3 separate regions of the Homo sapiens genome follow, and all the other regions are linked to region 1. Evidence: promoter capture Hi-C in 16 types of primary human blood cells and fetal thymus (Javierre and others, 2016). All regions are on one chromosome and are shown on one strand. The core of a region is centred on a gene start or on the middle of the fragment in contact, and the rest is flanking DNA. Distances in the headings are between cores, read along the strand shown.

Region 1 (3,214 bases), core at 594-3,093:
GCGACATCTGCAAGAAGTCTGTTCTCTCCGAGCCACTTAACAGGAAAACTAATCTCGTCTCGGCTCCCACAACCCTGCACCTGTTGTAATCCCTCTTCCTTCTTCATTGGCTCTTAATACAAAACTGAGTGTTGTGTCTGCCCTCCTGCACTCATGTGTGTAAGTGCACACATGCACGCACACACACACACACCCCAATTTCCTGGCATCGTCCACCCGAGTGGATGAGTGGATGGTGCAGGAAGTGAATGAATAGGTGTGCGTGAATGGGTGAGTGGAGGAATGAGTGTGTGCGGTAGGCAGGGGTGGGACGGGGTAATGGAGATGACAGTGGGTGGATAGGGAAGTGACTGAGCAGGTGAATAGGAGATATCAGATGTGGCAATGACGGTAGATGAGAAATGGCCGGGGAGATGTCAGAGGAGCGATAGGTGGACGGATGTTTGAATGGCGGGTGAAGGGCGGGGTGGATGAATGGATGAGTGGGCGTGTAGGGAGTAGGTGGGTGGCGCAGCCCTACCTAGAAGCAGCTCCGCGGGAGGAGGGCTCTGCTATTCTGCCCTGATCTTCCTGCCTGTTCCCTCCGCTGCAGCCCCTTTCCCCGCCCTGGGCCCAGCCCTCACCTCTGCCCCGCCCCGCCACTCACCTGTGGGTTCCCGGCTGCGGGCCTCCTGCAGGTAGCGCAGCGCGCGTGCGTAGTCGCCCAGGTGGTAGAAGGCAATGCCGGCACGGTAGGTGGCCTTGAAGTTGCCCTGCTGCTTCTCCAGTACCTTGAGACAGTACTCGCGCACGCGCTCGTAGTTTACCAGCTCCGACTGCAGCAGGCAAGCTGCGAGGGCCCCGCGGCCGGCACTCTCAGAGCCTGCTGGCACCCCCAGAACCCACCTGACTGCGAGGAGCCGAGGCTCCAGGCGGCAGGGAACCAGGCCTAAGGGATTGCTCCGGCAACCAGGGGCGCCAATCCGCTCGCCTATCGAAACAGGCGCAACTGCGCCGCTGCTAGGGGGCGCCAAAACACGGACAGGCGCCACTGGGCGATCCACCCAGAGCTGTCGGTGGGCAAGAGCACTAAGGCCCCGCGCGGGGGCGAGGGCCGGGACCTCGAGAGCCTGGCTCAGGGCAGACTTCCTCACCTTGGGTCCACGTGCGGCCAGGGGGTGGAAAGAATGACTCAGGGGAAGCGAGGCCCTGAATACCCGACCCAAAGACCATTTCCTGCATCCCAGCTCCCTCCAGCCACAGACCCCTGTCATCCCCTACCCCTAATCCCTTTCCTTGATCAAGCTCTGAAGGCTCCCCCAGAAGCCCACAGCCCTGGACCCTTCAGCCCCAGGGCCCCTGGCCCCCAAGTCGCCAAGCTCTCCCGATTGCCCCCTCCCCTCGTGCCCCATCCCCCCACCCCCCGACGGCGTACCCGTGAGGGAGTCGTAACACTCCACCTCCGTGCTCTCCACCAGGCGCCGCTGCTCCTCGCTGAGGCGCGCCGGCCCGGGGCTGCTGGTGGGCCCGGGGGCGGGGGCGGGCAGGCCGCTAGGGCGGGCCCCCTGCGCCGCCTTCAGCTGCAGCAGCGCTCGGTGGTACTTGCCGATGGCCTCCCGGAACTTCTTCTCTCGATAGCAGCGCTGGCCCTCTGCCTTGAACGCCACGGCGGCACGCAGGCTGCTGTCGAGCGCCGCGCCCAGGCTCCCCGACGGCTCTGGGGTAGGACCGGGACGAGCCGAGCCATGGCGGGAGCCCGAGCCTGGGCCCGAGCCCGGTGGGGAGAGGGCGGGAGGCGGGCGCGGCGGAGGCTCCGGGGCAGCGCTGAGCATCAGCACCGGGGACAGCGCGCCGCGCTGCATTGTGGGAAACTCCTGCCGCCGCCGCTGCAGCTACCGCATCGCCCCCCGCGGGGCTGGTCCCCACCCTTTCTCCGCCCCCTCACCTCCGGCAGCCGACTCCGGCTGCCCCCTATGGGTCTAGGGAAACCCCTCGAGACTTCCCCCATGCTCACTCTCAAATTAACCAAGTCCTAGTTCTCCAGCCCGCCCCCCGAATTGTTCCCATTCCCCTTACCCTCCCCAACCTCCTGCCTGCTCTCCTCCCCGGTGCCCAAAGCTCCCGAAGATTTCTAGAAGGAAAGGACGAGCCTGGGGGAAAGAGCAGGAAGACATCAGCCTCACGGAAAGCTGGCTCTCAGCCCACTGGCCATTTGGCATATCGAATGAGAACACAGGATTTGGACCCAAGCTTCCCAAATTCAAATCCCTGCTTACTTTCTCACTAGTGGTATGACTTAGACAGCTCGCTTAAACTACCTGGAACTCTGTATCCTCATCAGTAACATGGCACAATAATATCACCTTTAGGGCCAGTCGAGGTGGCTCACGCCTGTAATCCCAGCACTTTGGGAGGTCGAGGTGGATGGATCGCTTGAGGTCAGAAGTTTGAGACCAGCCTGGCCAATATGGCAAAACTCCGTCTCTACTAATATACAATATATACAAAATTTTTGTATATATACACAAAAATTAGCCTGGTGTGGTGGCGTGCACCTGTAGTCCCAGCTACTCGGGAGACTGAGGCAGGAGAATCACTTGAACCTGGGAGGCAGAGGTTGCAGTGAGCCGAGATTGTGCCACTGCACTCCAGCCTGGGTGACAGAGGGAGATGCCGTCTCAAAAAAGGAAAGGAAAGGAAAGGAAAGGAAAGGAAAGGAAAGGAAAGGAAAGGAAAGGAAAGGAAAGGAAAGGGGAAAGGGGAAAGAGGAAAGAGAAAAAAGGAAAGGAAAGGAATTAAAAATAATACCACCTTTGGGATTCATCTGTTAATTTATGAAACAAATATTCACTGACATCCTTTCTGTGCCCAGCTCTGTGCTGGATGATGCTGGGACATAGCAGACACTGCGTGAGCTTCAGACCCTACTCTCACTGGGCCCCAGTTCAGTGGGAAGACAGACCAGTGACCAGACAGTGACAGCCCTGAGCAGGCTAGCCTGGGAAGCACAGGCAGAGGGGTCGGGGCCGAGGTGGAAGAGGCACAGGCAGAGGGGTCGGGGCTGGGATGTGGGAGGTACCTGCCCTGGGCTGAGGTGGTGATAAAGTCTTCCTGGAGGAGGGAATAACTCTAAAAACAAGAGAGATCTCCTTCTTGCCCTCATCCAGCTCGGCTGTCTATGGGGGAAAACAAGTGAGAGGGCAAACAAGTCCCCAGGAAAGGAAGCATGCAGGAG
Region 2 (3,025 bases), core at 366-2,865, 410 kb before region 1:
TGTGATTCAACTTTATTGAGATATAATTTACATGCAATAAAATATATCCACTTTAAGTATAAAATGCAATAAATCCCAAAAGTTTCCCTCATCCCTTGTGATTTTAAGATACAGTTTTATCACATATTTTTGTATGCTTAAAAATGTTTCCTTTTGCTTGGCTTTGAGCTTTATAAATAGTATCATCCTATATGGAGTCTTTTGTTTTATTCACATTATGTTTCTGTAATTCTTTTTTTTTTTTCTTTTTTTTTTTTTTTTGAGACAGACTCTCACCCTCTTGCCCAGGCTGGAGTGCAGTGTCCAGGATCATAGCTCACTGCATCCTCGACCTCCAGGCCTCAAGCGACCCTCCCACTTCAGCCTCCCGAGTAGTTGGAGCTACAAGCACACGCCACTGAGCCCAGCTAATTTTTGCATTTTTTGTAGAAATAGGGTTTCACCATGTTCCCCAGGCTGGTCTTGAACTTCTGGCCTCAAGCAATCCTCCCGTCTCAGCCTCCCAAAGTGCTGGGATTACAAGCAGGAGCCACCATGCCCAGCCTAAATTCATCTTTTTCTTGTACATCTGTTGTTCCTTCATTTTCACTGCTGTGTAATTGTCCGTCATGTGAGATATACTAAAATTTATCAATTCTCCTTTAAATGGACATCAGATGTGTTTCTTTTTGCTATCAGATAAATGCTTTACAAAAGCATACAAAAGTTGACAGATGAACTTTGTATACTTGATCTTAGCCAAAGGCTGAGAAGAGATACTATGAACTTTAACATCTCAATCGATGCATGTGGTCAAATATCTCTTCTTGGGTAAGGACCTAGGAGTGCCAAGCATATGGGATTCAGATTTTCAATTTGGTTCAGTTTTTCAAAATAACAACAAACTACTTCCCAGAGGGTTGTACTAATTTGAACTCCCATCAGCAACATATGAGATGTCCTGTGAATCCCCATCCTCACCTACAGCCATCTTAACTTTTGTCAATTTGAGGCTGTGAAACAGAATTTTAGTGTGGCCTTTTTTTCTTTAGATGTTCCATATAATTAGGGGCTGGCTTTTAGTCAGATGGCTGGGACCAAACGATTGAGGAGGAAGGGAATTTAGAGGGTGACTGTAATGATGAATCTATAATTGGTAGGGGACAGTGGGCAGGGTGGGATGGAAAAAGGAGAGCCATGATGGACAGGGAGAGTGTGGGAACGTGGCCTGGAGGTTGCGCTGGAAGCAGAGGTGGTACTTGAACAAGCAAGCTGGAAGGAGAGGAAGTGGATTTCAGTTTCCTGATCTTTGTCTTGCTCTGATTAGGGATGAGTTGGAACATCTTTTCATGTCAATTACAAAACTACTGAAGCAACCAAAGAATCTCAAAGGAAAAGACCGACAGACTATTTTTAAAATTACTTTATTTAAAGCAATGTTTCTATGCAATTTAAATAAAAGAAATCTCTGGAGAAAAAAAAAATCTCTTTATCACAATCTATGTTGTACCCAAAACTGATATAACTTAACAAAGAAAAGACCAAGCCCCCGTTCAGGAATGTGCCATTGGTAAAGGGCAAATCCTGAGAGGAGCTACAGGGTAGCTCAGAGACAGGTGGGCAGAGCAATTCTACAGAAGGCAGATGTGATCCATGGCATGGCTACTGCACGCCCAGCAGGAGTCGAAGCAGCAGGAGATGCTGTGCTGGTGGCTGGGCCATCAAAATGAGGCCTCTGAGGCTGGCTTCACAGTCCAGTTGTGAAATGTGCACGACCCACATCTCACGTGTCATTTATTAATGCAGTATATTCACTGACTGTGTGCCAGGCTCTGCAGATAATGTGGCAACCAAGATAGACTCTGCCCCCATGCTCATGGATTTATTGTCCAAAGATGAGACAGACGCAGAGATGCTGACATCACAGCTGGTCAAGGTGGGACAGGGGAGAGGCAGACAGATGGGTCAAGGCTGGGATGGGAGAAACCCCAGGAGCTGTGGAAGCTCAGAACGGGCCCCCCACCCACCCTGGGGGACCAAGGGGGCTTCCTAAAGGAGACACCTTTACTGAGACCTGAACAGTGTATGGAATTAGTTGTGGGGAGGTGGGTGAAAGAAGGGTGCTCCAAAAAGAGGGAGAAGCACGTACAAATGCCCACAGGTGACAGGGAGTCGGGAGTGTTCTAGACCAGCATGATCCAACAGAAGAGTAACACGAGCCATACATGTGAGCTGCAAAGCTAATTAAACATTTTCTAATAGCCCAATTAAAAAAACCATAAAATTAATTGTAATTTTAATAATATATTTTATTTAACTCAATATATCCAAAATATTACCATATCAGTATGTGATCAATATAAAACATTTTTTTTGTACCAAGTCTTTAACTCTGGTGGGTATTTATGCTTAAAATATATCTCAAGTCACACGAGCCACATTTCAAGTGCCCAGGAGCCACATGTGGCCAGTGGCTCCTGTACTGTACTGAAGAGCAGGGCAACACCTTTGCTACTCAAAGCCTTGGCATCATTTGGGAGCTTGAAATGCAGAATCTCAGGCCCCTTCCTCAACCCACCGAAGCGGAATCTACATTCAAAATCCCAGATGCACATCAGAGTTTGAGAGAAATGGGTCCAGTTCTGCCTAAAATACTTCTGTGGCTTCCTACTGCCCTCATGATAAATGTCCAGCTATTGAGGTTGGCAATCATTCATTCACTCCTTCATTTACTCATTCATTCAGCGCATGGTTACTGAGCACCTACTGAGTGCCAGGCCCTGTGCTGGGTGATGTTGAGGACTCACCGACGGTACAGACAGACCTGATTCTGACCCTGCTGGAACTCCCAGACAGTTAATAAATGAGTAGCCAAATCACTGTTTCATTTGGACTATGTGAAACATAATATGCTTAATGTGAATTTGCAGTGTACAAGGAGTGTCAGGGAAGGTCTGACCCGATTTGAGTGGAAAGGGATCCAGAAAAATAACCCAAATAAGGGAAGAGGCCACCACCATGGCGAAAGGCCACAAGCAGATTAAAT
Region 3 (2,951 bases), core at 411-2,910, 430 kb before region 1:
GATTCTCAGTCATATGACATTGAACAGATATGTCTGGGGGCTTCAAATCCTCCTTGGGCCTCCACTCTCTTTGAAATAGATGAATTTGTAAAGATCTATGACTTGCCAGGGGAAGATGACACCAGCAGCCTAAATCAATATCTTTTTCCAGTATGCCTTGAGTATGACCAGCTCCAATCTTCAGTGTAACTTCTTACACATCACTTCTAGGGGAGGTCTGGATCTGACCCACTGAGACATATTTCCACACATCTTTAATGGTTTGACCCCAGTCTAAGTAGATCAGGGGCTGGGAATTTATCTTTTTCTGTAGAAAAAACAATAAAGGAACTCCCCTACCTTTCATCATTGCCTGCATTTTCTGAACTCCATTTGAGTGCCTCCTCACCCAAATTTCAGCATTAAAGATTGTATTCAGAGAAGTGACGCCAGGAACACAGTGACATAGGAGGTTCCTGATTGATGGACTGAATAAACGTCTGTGCCTACATCAGTTCTCTCTGGAAGAAAGTCAGAAGTGAGTGGAGAGACTCCTACACACCAGGCAACTAAGAAAATGTCTTAGCAGGCCAGTCGCGGTGGCTCACGCCTGTAATTCCAGCACTTTGGGAGGCCAAGGTGGGTGGATCACGAGGTCAGGAGATCAAGACCATCCCGGCTAACATGGTGAAACGCTGTCTCTACTAAAAATACAAAAAATTAGCTGGGTGTGGTGGTGGGCACCTGTAGTCCCAGCTGCTTGGGAGGCTGAGGCAAGAGAATTGCTTGAACCCGGGAGGCGGAGGTTGCGTGAGCCAAGATTGCACCACTGCACTCCAGCCTGGGCGACAGAGTAAGACTCCATCTCAAAAAAAAAAAAAAAGAAAAGGAAGAAAAGACAAGAAAAAAAATGTCTTATCAAACAGGCAGCAAAAGCTGAAGCACTCAGAAACACTAAACCCACCCTGGGCACTGAGCCATACAATCAGGAAGGAATCCCCAGTTCCCAGCTTCTCCCCCAGGAGAGAAGCAGTGAACCACACATATAGCACCCTAACAGTTGATGGTTAAGTTCCTAACGAGCCTGCATCAGGGAGTTGACTAGGTAGGTAAACTACAGACTTACAAGAGCCTGAACAGAAGCTAGGTGCCACCCAAAGCTTCACCCCAGCTCAGCCCAGCAATAAATCCAGGTCTATCAATTCCTCCTGGAAGAAGTTTGTCCACACATTGAGCACCCCAACTTTTATACCTGCACTCAAGGGACTGCATCCTAAATCCCCTAGCTCTGGAAATGGAAGGGATTAGGCATATGTGAGTCTCCCTAGCTCACAGAGAAAAAGGTGGTTTTAAGCAGGCACACAAGCACTTCAGGGCTAGCCTTCCTCCACCACACTCCCCCAACCAGAGCAGTGCAGAGAAGGGGTCAAAATGTACAGCTCCCAGTTACTCCTCAAAAAGGATTTGCCAGCACACTCTTCCAGCTGCTGCTTGATAGTCATGCTTTTAACCAGCCTGTATCTGGAAGTCAACAGGGCAGACAAATGCTGGATCCTTGGGAGCCTGAATGGGAGTTCAGACACTGTCCAAGCCTTTTGCCCTTGCTTGCTCTAGTGGTAAGTCTACAGACTCTCCCTGGAAGGAGTTTTTCCATGCAGTGAGCACCCAAATTTTTGCAGCTTCCACGGCATCCTAAATCACCTATCTCTGGGAACTGAAGGGATTTGACATTCACTAGTCTCCCTAGATCACAGCAAAGAGGTGATTTTAAACTGATGCACAAGCATTTCCAGGAGATGAGAATAGTCCCAGGGACCTGAGGCTGAACACACCTAGCTGGCCACTACCACCTCAGGTGGCATCTACTTGCATGTGCCACTTACAGGCCTGGAGACTGGCCTGCTCAGCCCGTCACAGCCATCACCAACACTAGCACAAGCTGATTGGGAGCTAGATTGTCCTGCCAATATTACTGCCATTGCCCATGCCACCCTTGCTGCCCAGTGGCCCCAGGAACTACGCACCTACCTGGCCTACGGCTGGCAATGCCAGCACCCAAGAAAGCCACCTGGAAGCCTGGGAATTGGCCTACCTAAACCTGCTAAACCTGTGCCAGCGTACACCACCCTGGGACTCAAGGACAGGCTCACCACTGCCACCACTGGGCCCGAAAACCGGCCCACCTGACATCCCCTATCCCAGAAAAGCTTCACAGCCTCCACCAACAACTGCACCTTAAGCCACGGAGGAAATAACACTACTGATGTTGCTTACAGCCAAATAAATCATACAGAGACTATACCTGGATAAAGAATTCAAAATAATGATATTAAAGAAGCTCAGTGAGATACAAAAGAACTCAGAAAAATAATACAAACAAATCAGAAAAACAATTCAGGATATGAATGAGAAATTTACCAAAGAGATAGATATAAAAAAGAACCAAACAAATTCTGGAAATGAAGACTTCATTGAATGAAATACAAAATATATTTGAAAGCTTCAACAACAGACTAAATCAAGTAGAAAAAAGAATTTCAGAACTTGAAGCCATATCTTTTGAAATAACCCAGGAAGACAAAAATAAAAAAGAATTTAAAAAGAATGATAAAAGCCTTCATGACATATGATACCATAAAGCAACCAAATTTTCAAATTACTGGGGTCCCAGAAGGCAAAGAGAGAGAAAAGGGTAAGAAAGTATTTAATAAAATAATAGGCCAGGCACAGTGGCTCACGCCTGTAATCTCAGCACTTTGGGAGGCCGAGGAGGGTGGAGCACCTGAGGTCAAGAGTTCAAGACCAGCCTGGCCAACATGGTGAAACCTGGTCTCTACTAAAAATACAAAAATTAGCTGGGTGTGGTGGTGCACACCTGTAGTCCCAACTACTTGGGAGGCTGAGGCAGGATAATTGCTTGAACCAAGGAGGCGGAGGTTGCAGTGAGCCGAGATCACGCCACTGCACTCCAG

Evidence for each region. Contacts are between HindIII fragments. The CHiCAGO score rates a contact against its expected background, and 5 or more counts as called.
Region 2: a contact is called between a fragment that was not itself captured here and the fragment with the promoter of TTC9B in region 1, in 1 of 17 cell types (neutrophils). The highest score is 5.9, in neutrophils.
Region 3: a fragment that was not itself captured here is called in contact with the fragment with the promoter of TTC9B in region 1 in 1 of 17 cell types (neutrophils); the score reaches 5.8 in neutrophils.

Annotation. Positions count from the first base shown.
Region 1 is chr19:40,216,541-40,219,754 of GRCh38, forward strand. It overlaps TTC9B (tetratricopeptide repeat domain 9B), which reads right to left and starts at 1,844. Exons shown (of 3, transcript NM_152479.6): 1 at 1,415-1,844; 2 at 647-829. The coding sequence starts at 1,841. RefSeq lists enhancers at 712-1,302, 2,881-3,214. The HindIII fragment of the contact is 9,686 bases long and covers 1-2,227 here.
Region 2 is chr19:39,810,705-39,813,729 of GRCh38, forward strand. No RefSeq gene overlaps it. Among named protein-coding and RNA genes, the nearest start is that of MIR6719, 18 kb to the right of the region's middle. The HindIII fragment of the contact is 7,090 bases long and covers 1-3,025 here.
Region 3 is chr19:39,785,947-39,788,897 of GRCh38, forward strand. LEUTX (leucine twenty homeobox) reads left to right here. Exons shown (of 3, transcript NM_001382345.1): 3 at 1-345. The coding sequence ends at 189. Among named protein-coding and RNA genes, the nearest start is that of LEUTX, 8.6 kb to the left of the region's middle. The HindIII fragment of the contact is 1,047 bases long and covers 1,138-2,184 here.